2 separate regions of the Homo sapiens genome follow, and region 1 is linked to region 2. The links are contacts of gene promoters, found by promoter capture Hi-C in blood cells and fetal thymus (Javierre and others, 2016). All regions are on one chromosome and are shown on one strand. The core of a region is centred on a gene start or on the middle of the fragment in contact, and the rest is flanking DNA. Distances in the headings are between cores, read along the strand shown.

Region 1 (4,368 bases), core at 1,603-4,102, 750 kb before region 2:
CTTTCACTTTCACTTTTCATTTTTCAAATAGTGCTGAATAATCCTCCCTGGGAGACACGTTTCCTGTTTGAAAGCTTCTGAAATGCCAAAATCCTTTAATAGGATTTAAAGAACAAAATGCTACTGTCAAATACTTTACAAGTGTTTCAGAGTTGTAGATACCAGTAATATGGCTTCTTAGACTTGGAGGGAAAAAACACACAAAATGCACCTGTAGATAATATCAAATTGCCTCAAAACTCCTAAACAAACACACTTTTATTTGTTATGCAGGCTAGATTTAAAGATTGTTAGTTTGCAAACTTGTTAATAAACGAAAAACATTCACTTATATTATCTATGCAAAGAAAAAGGAGCAGAAGGGTATATTCTAAGTGCTTGCCAGTGGTAAGAGTATGGGCAGTTTTCGTTTCCTTCTTTTGCTTGTTGGTTTTTCCTAAAACTTCTATACTTAACATGCCTCACTTTTATAAGAAAGCATTATTCAATAAGTTCGCATTATTTTTATAATAAGAAAAAAGATATTTTTATTTGAAGGGGGAGCTTGTTTACAAAGAACTTATGTCACACTTAGAAGAAAGGCTAAAATCCTAGGCAGTAACCTGTTCAACTTTAAAATTAGCTTAATACAAGGCCAAAAATGTTTTTTAAACACTGAATATGTCCAATGAGTAGCAGAGGGCAACATATTTAATAAAAACACAAGAGATAGATACTTAGAGACCCCTGAGTTGTACAGGAAACTGCCTGTGTAGCTCTGGGGAATTTCTGATTCTTGACGAGGAACTTACGAGATCCACATACATGAAACAAATGGCCAACAAAATGAACAACATTAGCATGTCATACTGTGGAAAACCAACTGAACTAGAATCCAAGAGACCTTGGTTATGATGTGGACTTGGCACTCTGAACTTCGGCAAATTACTTGTCCTCTCTAAGCCCCAGTTTCCAGATGTGTGAAATGTTATTTCCAAATGTGTGAAATGTTAATAATATGACTTACCCCTGTCTAACTCACAAGTGAGAAAAACTAATGAATTCTATACATGTCCAATATTATGATACTCAGTGTTAGATAATGTAGTTCGGATTATACATGCTATAGGAATTCAGAAAAGAGAGAATTCTGTGTGGGCTGGAGTACTCCGAGTAACTTAAAAGCAATTCTACATAGGCCAAGAGAAAAGAGACATGAAATGCGGCATATAAGCAAACCAAAAGTTATACCACTTAATAAGGTGGCAATCCTCAGCAAATGTCTACTCTATAGTATCAAAATGTTTTTACAAAGTGACATACTGGACAATTGATTGGAAGTTGTATTATCATTTTATACTTGGAGAAAGGAGTCCCAGAAGGTTACTATTTTTTCAGCATTCTTGCCTACTCTAAACAAGCTCCATCGTGAAATGAATGATTAGAAAAAAGTCATCAGACGGCTGGGCACGGTGGCTCACGCCTGTAATCCCAGCACTTTGGGAGGCGGAGGCAGGTGGATCACCTGAGGTCAGGAGTTTGAGACCAGCCTGGCCAAACTGGTGAAACCCCGTTTCTACTAAAAATACAAAAATTAGCTGGGCATGGTGACGGGCGCCTGTAATCCCAGCTACTTGGAAGGCCGAGGCAGGAGAATCGCTTGAACCCAGGAGGTGGAGGTTGCAGTGAGCCGAGATCGCGCCATTGCACTCCAGCCTGGGTGACAGAGCGAGACTCTGTCTCAAAAATAAATAAATAAAATAAATAAAAAAGTCATCATACAATACTAAAATTTCTATTATAATTTGTTTTATACCAGAAAAGACTATAGGGAAAATTGGAATGTGCAGAGTGCAACTATTTCCAATTATTTTTCAAGAACTAACTCAAATTCATCTTTCTCCCATACCATAGTTATCTTTCTTTTATTACTCTTAGGATTTGCTCTTGAACTCATTAATTTAAAAACCAACCTACTACTAACTAGTAATACTTCTTTTATTATATAAAATCATCTTGCAGCATTTATTTCCTTGTTTTCTTAATGTCTTGGACTCTTCTATGGGTTATAAGTAATATACTGCATCCCCTATAATGACTAAAAGTACTGTGTACATAAGTAGGCTTAAAGCACATTCTACTTTTCAATGTGATTTCACATACATTTGGGATGAAACAAAAGACCTGTAAAGATAATGATTATTGTTCTACCTAGACATGACTTAATGTTAAAATCACTTGCTTGTCAAAGACCTTAGTATTCAAAATAATGGACAAATTTACTCTCAAAACAAATTCACTCCTTTGGAAGGACTGGCTTACAAACAAAACTTCTACAAACTAATCATAGAATTTCATAAAGTATAAGGTGCTATGTTAAGTGATTTACATTAATTCATTAACCTTTTGAGATAGGTGCTATTACATTACCACCTTATAGATGTTAGCTCTAGGGCACGGAGTTAGAGAAATTTGCTTAAGGTCACAAGTGGCAGAACCTGGGTTCAACCTATGCAGTGAGTCCAGACATTTTGCCCCTAAGTACTATAATATACTATACTATACTATACTATACTATACTATACTATACTATCTATACTAAATTACTCAATACATAATTTTAAGAAGATTTTGGTTGTTTTTCTGCAGAATCTAAGTTTGTTTTCCTTAACTGATCAAAGACGTGCTACTGTTGAAAAAGTATTAAGCTTTGGTTCAGATGACTTAATGGTCATTTGACAAATATGTTTGGGCACCTACGTACACTTAGTATTATTAAGTACCTGCCTAGTGCTAAGGATTTGCACATAACTCATTTACTAAATCCTCCCGACAAGTTTGTGAGTTTGGTATTGCTAATCTTAAAGATGAGGAAATCTGGGCACTGCAAAATAACTTATACAAACTCATAAGGCAAATAAATGACAGGGCTCCAATCTCTTAACTCCATTAACTACTTAAATATAAGGAAAACCTGGCAGCCATTGCTCTGGAAAACTGGAAAAGAAGAATCGGGAGCCACGGGAAGAAGGAAAATGCCAAGCTTCTGGTCCCACAGTCTCACTCTCCCCAGGATCCCACCTTATGCCGCCAACAAACTAACCTCATTACTAGCGACACCAGGAAACTTATCAGAGATTCGGGGATCTAGAGAGCCAGTCCCACAGTCTCACTCTCCTCAGGATCCCACCTTATGCCGCCAACAAACTAACCTCATTACTAGCGACACCAGGAAACTTATCAGAGATTCGGGGATCTAGAGAGCCAGGCTCTGGGCAGGCGCTTAAACATTTATAAACTGATTCCCTTTAGGCAACTCTCACCAAGCAAGAAGCATTTAGCGAAGGCCAGAGCAGAGCACTGACCCAGGAGCCCTGGAGGAGCAAATGCCAAGGTCCCAGACCTGTCTGCCTGTTTCGCCTGTAATCCCAGCACTTTGGAAGGCCGAGACGGGCGGATCTCCTGAGGTCGGGAGTTCGAGACCAGCCTGACCAATATGGAGAAATCCACATCTCTACTAATAATACAAAAATTAGCCAGGCGTGGTGGCGCATATCTGTTCCCAGCTACTCGGGAGGCTGAGGCACGAGAATCGCTTGAACCCGGGAGACAAAGACTGTGCTAAGCCGAGATCGCGCCATTGCACTCCGGCCTGGACAACAAGAGCGAAACCCCTCTCGAAAAAATAAATAAATAAATAAAATAAGTACGGGCAGGGCAGGCCGGCTTCCATCTCTCAGATCCTCCCTGGTACTTATTCAACCCCCGACAAACTCCTTCTGGCCGCTCCTACACCCCAGGCCTGGCCGGGCCTCCCCTGCTTCCTCTCACCGTCCTTCATCTGGACAATATTGCTGGCGGCCACCCGGTCGGAGGCGACAAGAACATAGTCGGGGCCTTGGATACCGATGAGGTACTCCATGGTGGCGGAAGGCCAGGGGCTGCAGGTCCGACACAGCACGAGACTCGCCCGCTTCCAGGTCTCACCGGTGAGACAGCACCTCAGAGCGAAGATTGGCGCGACGCCTGCAGCACGACTTCCACGGCGCTCTCGGATGACGTACAACTGTCGCGAGAGGTTGCAAAGCGGGCGCGGCGCCGGGTGCCTTATGTTCAGTGCTTGTCTCTGGGATCGTACGGGTCTCCTCCGGAGCAGGCTGTGCAGGTCACTTGCCTTATGTGACGCCCAGTTTCTCTGTTTACACACTAAGATTTTAAAAGTGGCTTTAGGATAAAATCACGCAGTGTATGTAAGGTGCCGAGCACGTGTGGGTGTCAAAAAGGGGTAGGTAGCCAGGCAGCCGTTTCCCTACGTTGCTCGGTAAAATCTCCCCAGAAACCCCTTTCCTGCAAGCCAGATTGGAGAAAAATTAACTTGAGGGGAGCCTT
Region 2 (4,161 bases), core at 1,662-4,161:
ATTTTGGTTCACCGCAACCTCCGCCTCCCAGGTTCAAGAGATTCTCCTGTCTCAGCCTCCTGAGTAGCTGGGATTACAAGCATGCACCACCACGTCCGGCTAATTTTGTATTTTTAGTAGAGAAGGGGTTTCTCCATGTTAGACTGGTCTTGAACTCCTGACCTCAGGTGATCTGCCCACTTCGGCCTCCTAAAGTGCTGGGATTACAGGCGTGAGCCATCATACCCGGCCTCAAATAACCTCTTAACTATTACAATCTACTGCCTTCCCCAAAGGTCAGATTAAAAGCACAAGTTAGCAAACACAGCACCCTTTACAACTGGCCTTCTGAGAGGGCAGTCTTATCTCTCCAGCTGCTCAAGCAACCTACAATCCCAGGAAGAGAGGGGCACATGTGCCAGGCACTTCTGCGCCAGGCAGAGAAGCCCAGGCCAATGCAGGAGCTTGCCATCTGGCACTGGTTGCACATGGTGCTTCCTCAGCAAAGATCCATCGCCCCAGCACCAACTCTCCTCTCTCAGAAGCCTAGGTTTGTCTCCGAAGAGTTCTCCAGCCCTTCAGTCGCTCCTGTCCTCCTCCTTCCCTCCTCTACTGGGACTCCAGTGAAATCTTTCTAAAATATGTAACCAATCATGTCATTCCTCTGCTTCAGACCTTTTCACTTGCTCCCGGCTGCCCTGGGCATGATATCTCAAATTGCTAATATGGCATTCTTTCATGAACCTATACTGCTTCACTTGCACCATATCAACTTCCATACCACTAGATTGAACAATCTGAGATTTCTGGAATAAACTATGAGTTTATTTGTCTATCTCGCTCTCAAAGTATTCATTCTCACCTGGCTAAGCCTCCCCTCCTCTCCTTTTAGACTCAGCTCCAGCATCACTTCTGCCAAGCCTTTTCATGGCACACTCCCGTCCCCACCCCACCCCCAAGGCTGAGCTCACAGCTTTCTCCCTTTCTCCACTGGGCTCCCACAGTACTCTCTTGCTGCTGCTATTAGCTTCTTCTTCTTCTTTTTTTTTTTTTTTTGAGACAGAGTCTCACTCTGTTACTCAGGCTGGAGTGCACTGGCTTGATCTCGGCTCACTGCAACCTCTGCCTCATAGGTTCAAGCAATTCTCCTGCCTCAGCCTCCCGAGTAGCTGGGATTACAGGCCTGTGCCACCATGCCCAGCTAATTTTTCTATTTTCAGTAGAGATGGGGTTTCACCATGTTAGCCAGGCTGGTCTCGAACTCCTGACCTCAGGTGATCCGCCCGCCTCGGCTTCCCAAAGTGTTGGGATTACAGGCATGAGCCACGGCGCCCAGCCACTACTAGCTTCTTTAGACCACATTTCAACCATTTGTTTACAGGTCAATTTCCCTTAATTAGACTGTATGCTCCTTGAAATAAAAATAGATAACATTTATTGAATTCTTATTACGTGGCAAACATGGTTGTATGTTTTACATGTTAACTTTTTACTCTTCATAATATCTCTCTCTGTTATCATCCTTGTTTTATAGACGAAGACACTGAGGCACAGGGAGACTAAGCAATGTGCCCAGGTACACACAGCTGGAAAGTTGCTGAGCCAGAATTTGAACTCAGGAAGTCTGGCTCCAAAGCCTACTCTTAACCACTATGCTGTCTAGCACTTGCCTCTAGGCAAGGACTCTTGTTGTGGTCATGTGAGAAATGAATGAATGAATGAATGAGGACTGTCTAGATTAACCCAACCAACAACTTGCACAGCACGGCCATTAGGAAGCACTAAAGGAGCTCACAGGCACTGTTTACAAACAAGATTATTTTGGCCCTACAATTACACATTCTGCTCTTCCTTATCTCACGCAAAACTACTCAAAGAGGGAAAGGCGCCCAGCCCAGTATGCCTACCCTCTTCCCCACTGGTTCTCAAAACCAAAGCAAAGCCAACCGGTTTCCTCCAGTGACTTAAAACAGAGCAAAGTCTATCCTGCCACACAGAGGGCGGCTGTCATCTCTTCCTTCCGCTAACAAAAGGGCTTCAAACCTGGGGATTGGGGTGGGCAGAAAACTCGGCATCAGGAATCCGAATGTCCCTACCTAACTGGCTGGAAGGCGGGGCCAAGTGGCGTGGGAATGGGCGGGCCTGACCGGCTCGGCAGGTGAAACACTGACCACAGCAAGCTCTCCTTGGAAAAGGCCGGCCAAACGTGGCCTTGGCAAGCAGGTAGCTGTGACTCGTACCTGAACGCCGCCCGGGATATGAAAATTCCCCAGCAGCGGTAGCGCCCGTGCCAGAGTGAGGGCTCTTGGAGGAAGCCCTGGCTGGCCCTCCCTGGGGACTCGTTCTAACTATCAAGTCACCCTCGGGATTAGGAGGGAAACACGGAGAGGCAGAAGGTGTCTTTTTGGAAAGATCTGGCTGGATTCACACGCCGGTTGCTTCACTCACTGGCTGGGTGACTCTAGGCAAAGCTGGCAGTGCCCACTTCCCAGAGCTGCGGCGGGGACTGAAGCTCCCGCGGCCTCCCGGTACCCGGCGCGAGGCAGCCCTCGCCCCTGCCGCCGGGGAAGGGCAGAGCCCCAGCGGAGGAGGGGGCATTCGCCGGGGCCATTTCTGCTGCACTCAGATGGCTTCAGGCTGTCACTCCGATTCCACCGCCGCGGCCGCCGGGGCCCGCCCCGCCTACCCGCAACCCCCACCCGGCTCCCCGCTCCTGGACCCCTGCCCTCACCTTCGCCGGGTGGTCAGAGCTATTCGCCCATAGTCCGTAGCCCAGAGCCGGGGCTGCTCGGCTCTCCCTCCCGGGGGGCCGGGGCCGGGCTGGAGGCGTGCGAGCCTCTCACCGCCGCCTCCCAGCGCAGCCACCCGAGCCGCCGCCGCCGCCGCCGCCGCCTCCCTCCATGGCTGCGGCGCCGCCACCTGACAACGGAAGTGACGCACCGCCCCCCTCCTCCCCAGCCTTAGCCGCGGCCCCGCCCCCCCGGGCCCCGCCCTCCGCCTGCGTCTCCAGCCCCACGGCTTTCGGATTGGGGCGCCATCTTGACGATGGGCGGAAGACTTCAGGCAAGAGGCCAGAGTCCGATTGAGGATTGGTTCAGGGTGGGGTCTGGGCGAAACCTGTTACACGATTGGAGGCCGAGGCTCTAATGGGGCGGTACTTACTGCTGATCTATATCTGCGGCGAGGCTGGGACGGAGGCACCGCCCCGCCCGACCCCACAGAACCTCGCGGGCCCTACACTCCCCCTGCCGAGGTTGAAGTCCCCAGCGGTTGGAAGATCGGCCAATTGTAGTGTATTTATCAGAAAAGTGACTCATCCTTGATCCTCATTTCCCGGTTTGTGGAACTCTGTGAGGAAAGCCCTGCAGTTAGGCTCAATAAAAGACAGAAATTCCTGTCGCAGCGCTCATAATTCATTTCCCTCTAGGTCTGTCGCCTTTGTAGAAACCCCGAGGATGGCAACCTTCAACCTGGAGATCCCTGAAGCCTTGACCAGGGAGGTTTACAGTGAAGCGTTCCTATTAGCGACTACAGCTATCTAACCTCAGTTCCTCCTGCTGCAGTTTCGGTCCCTTTCTCCTCCTCCTCCAGCAACCACGCCCTCCATGAATCAGCTTCTTGCACCAGCAGATGAGCCCTTTAAAGGGATTGCATCAGGCAAGTGACTCACTGGGGCCCTCTAAGAGCCTGGCTTCCCTCCCTTGGCATGCAGAAGCAGCTAGAAGGGCTCAGTGGCAGCAGCACCAGCGGCCGTAGCCCCACTCCCTTGTCCCAGAGGTGTGAGTCAGGGTGTTTGCTGCTTATGATGTCTAACTCTTGGCTGTCTTTCCAGCTGTCCCCTGGGTCACTCTATATCCATGTGTGGGCACACGTGTCTAAGCTTGTGTGCACTGCTGGGTTTTCCTAGGGTGTGTGGCCACTTGTGTGTATGTGCATTTGTCATCTCCACATAGGCAGTGCCAGGACACAAGAGCTGATATGAGTGAAGTCTGGCTGCCTCTACCTGTGTCCTTTGTCTCTGAATGCCTGGTGCCCACTGAGCTGCTGATAGGGCTGACTAACAAGAGTAATCAGGACAGCTCCCACCGTTGTGCCACACTCTGCATGGAGCACTTGAGACAGTATTAGGTAGGAGGCTGTTTACAGCTGAGGAAGCCAGTGCTCAGAGAAGGAAATTAATGT

The links. Contacts are between HindIII fragments. The CHiCAGO score rates a contact against its expected background, and 5 or more counts as called.
Region 1: a contact is called between a fragment that was not itself captured here and the fragment with the promoter of STK40 in region 2, in 1 of 17 cell types (erythroblasts). The highest score is 5.4, in erythroblasts.

Annotation. Positions count from the first base shown.
Region 1 is chr1:35,637,532-35,641,899 of GRCh38, forward strand. It overlaps PSMB2 (proteasome 20S subunit beta 2), which reads right to left and starts at 3,995. Exons shown (of 6, transcript NM_002794.5): 1 at 3,811-3,995. The coding sequence starts at 3,901. RefSeq lists enhancers at 2,970-3,935, 3,724-4,183, 3,936-4,368. The HindIII fragment of the contact is 335 bases long and covers 2,686-3,020 here.
Region 2 is chr1:36,383,013-36,387,173 of GRCh38, forward strand. STK40 (serine/threonine kinase 40) reads right to left here and starts at 2,912. Exons shown (of 11, transcript NM_001282547.2): 1 at 2,711-2,912. It overlaps LOC124904012 (a long non-coding RNA gene), which reads left to right and starts at 3,179. Exons shown (of 2, transcript XR_007065779.1): 1 at 3,179-3,315; 2 at 3,407-4,161. RefSeq lists silencers at 2,070-2,119, 2,420-2,489, 2,640-3,019 and enhancers at 3,226-4,161, 3,250-3,359, 3,390-3,759. The HindIII fragment of the contact is 3,916 bases long and covers 1-3,857 here.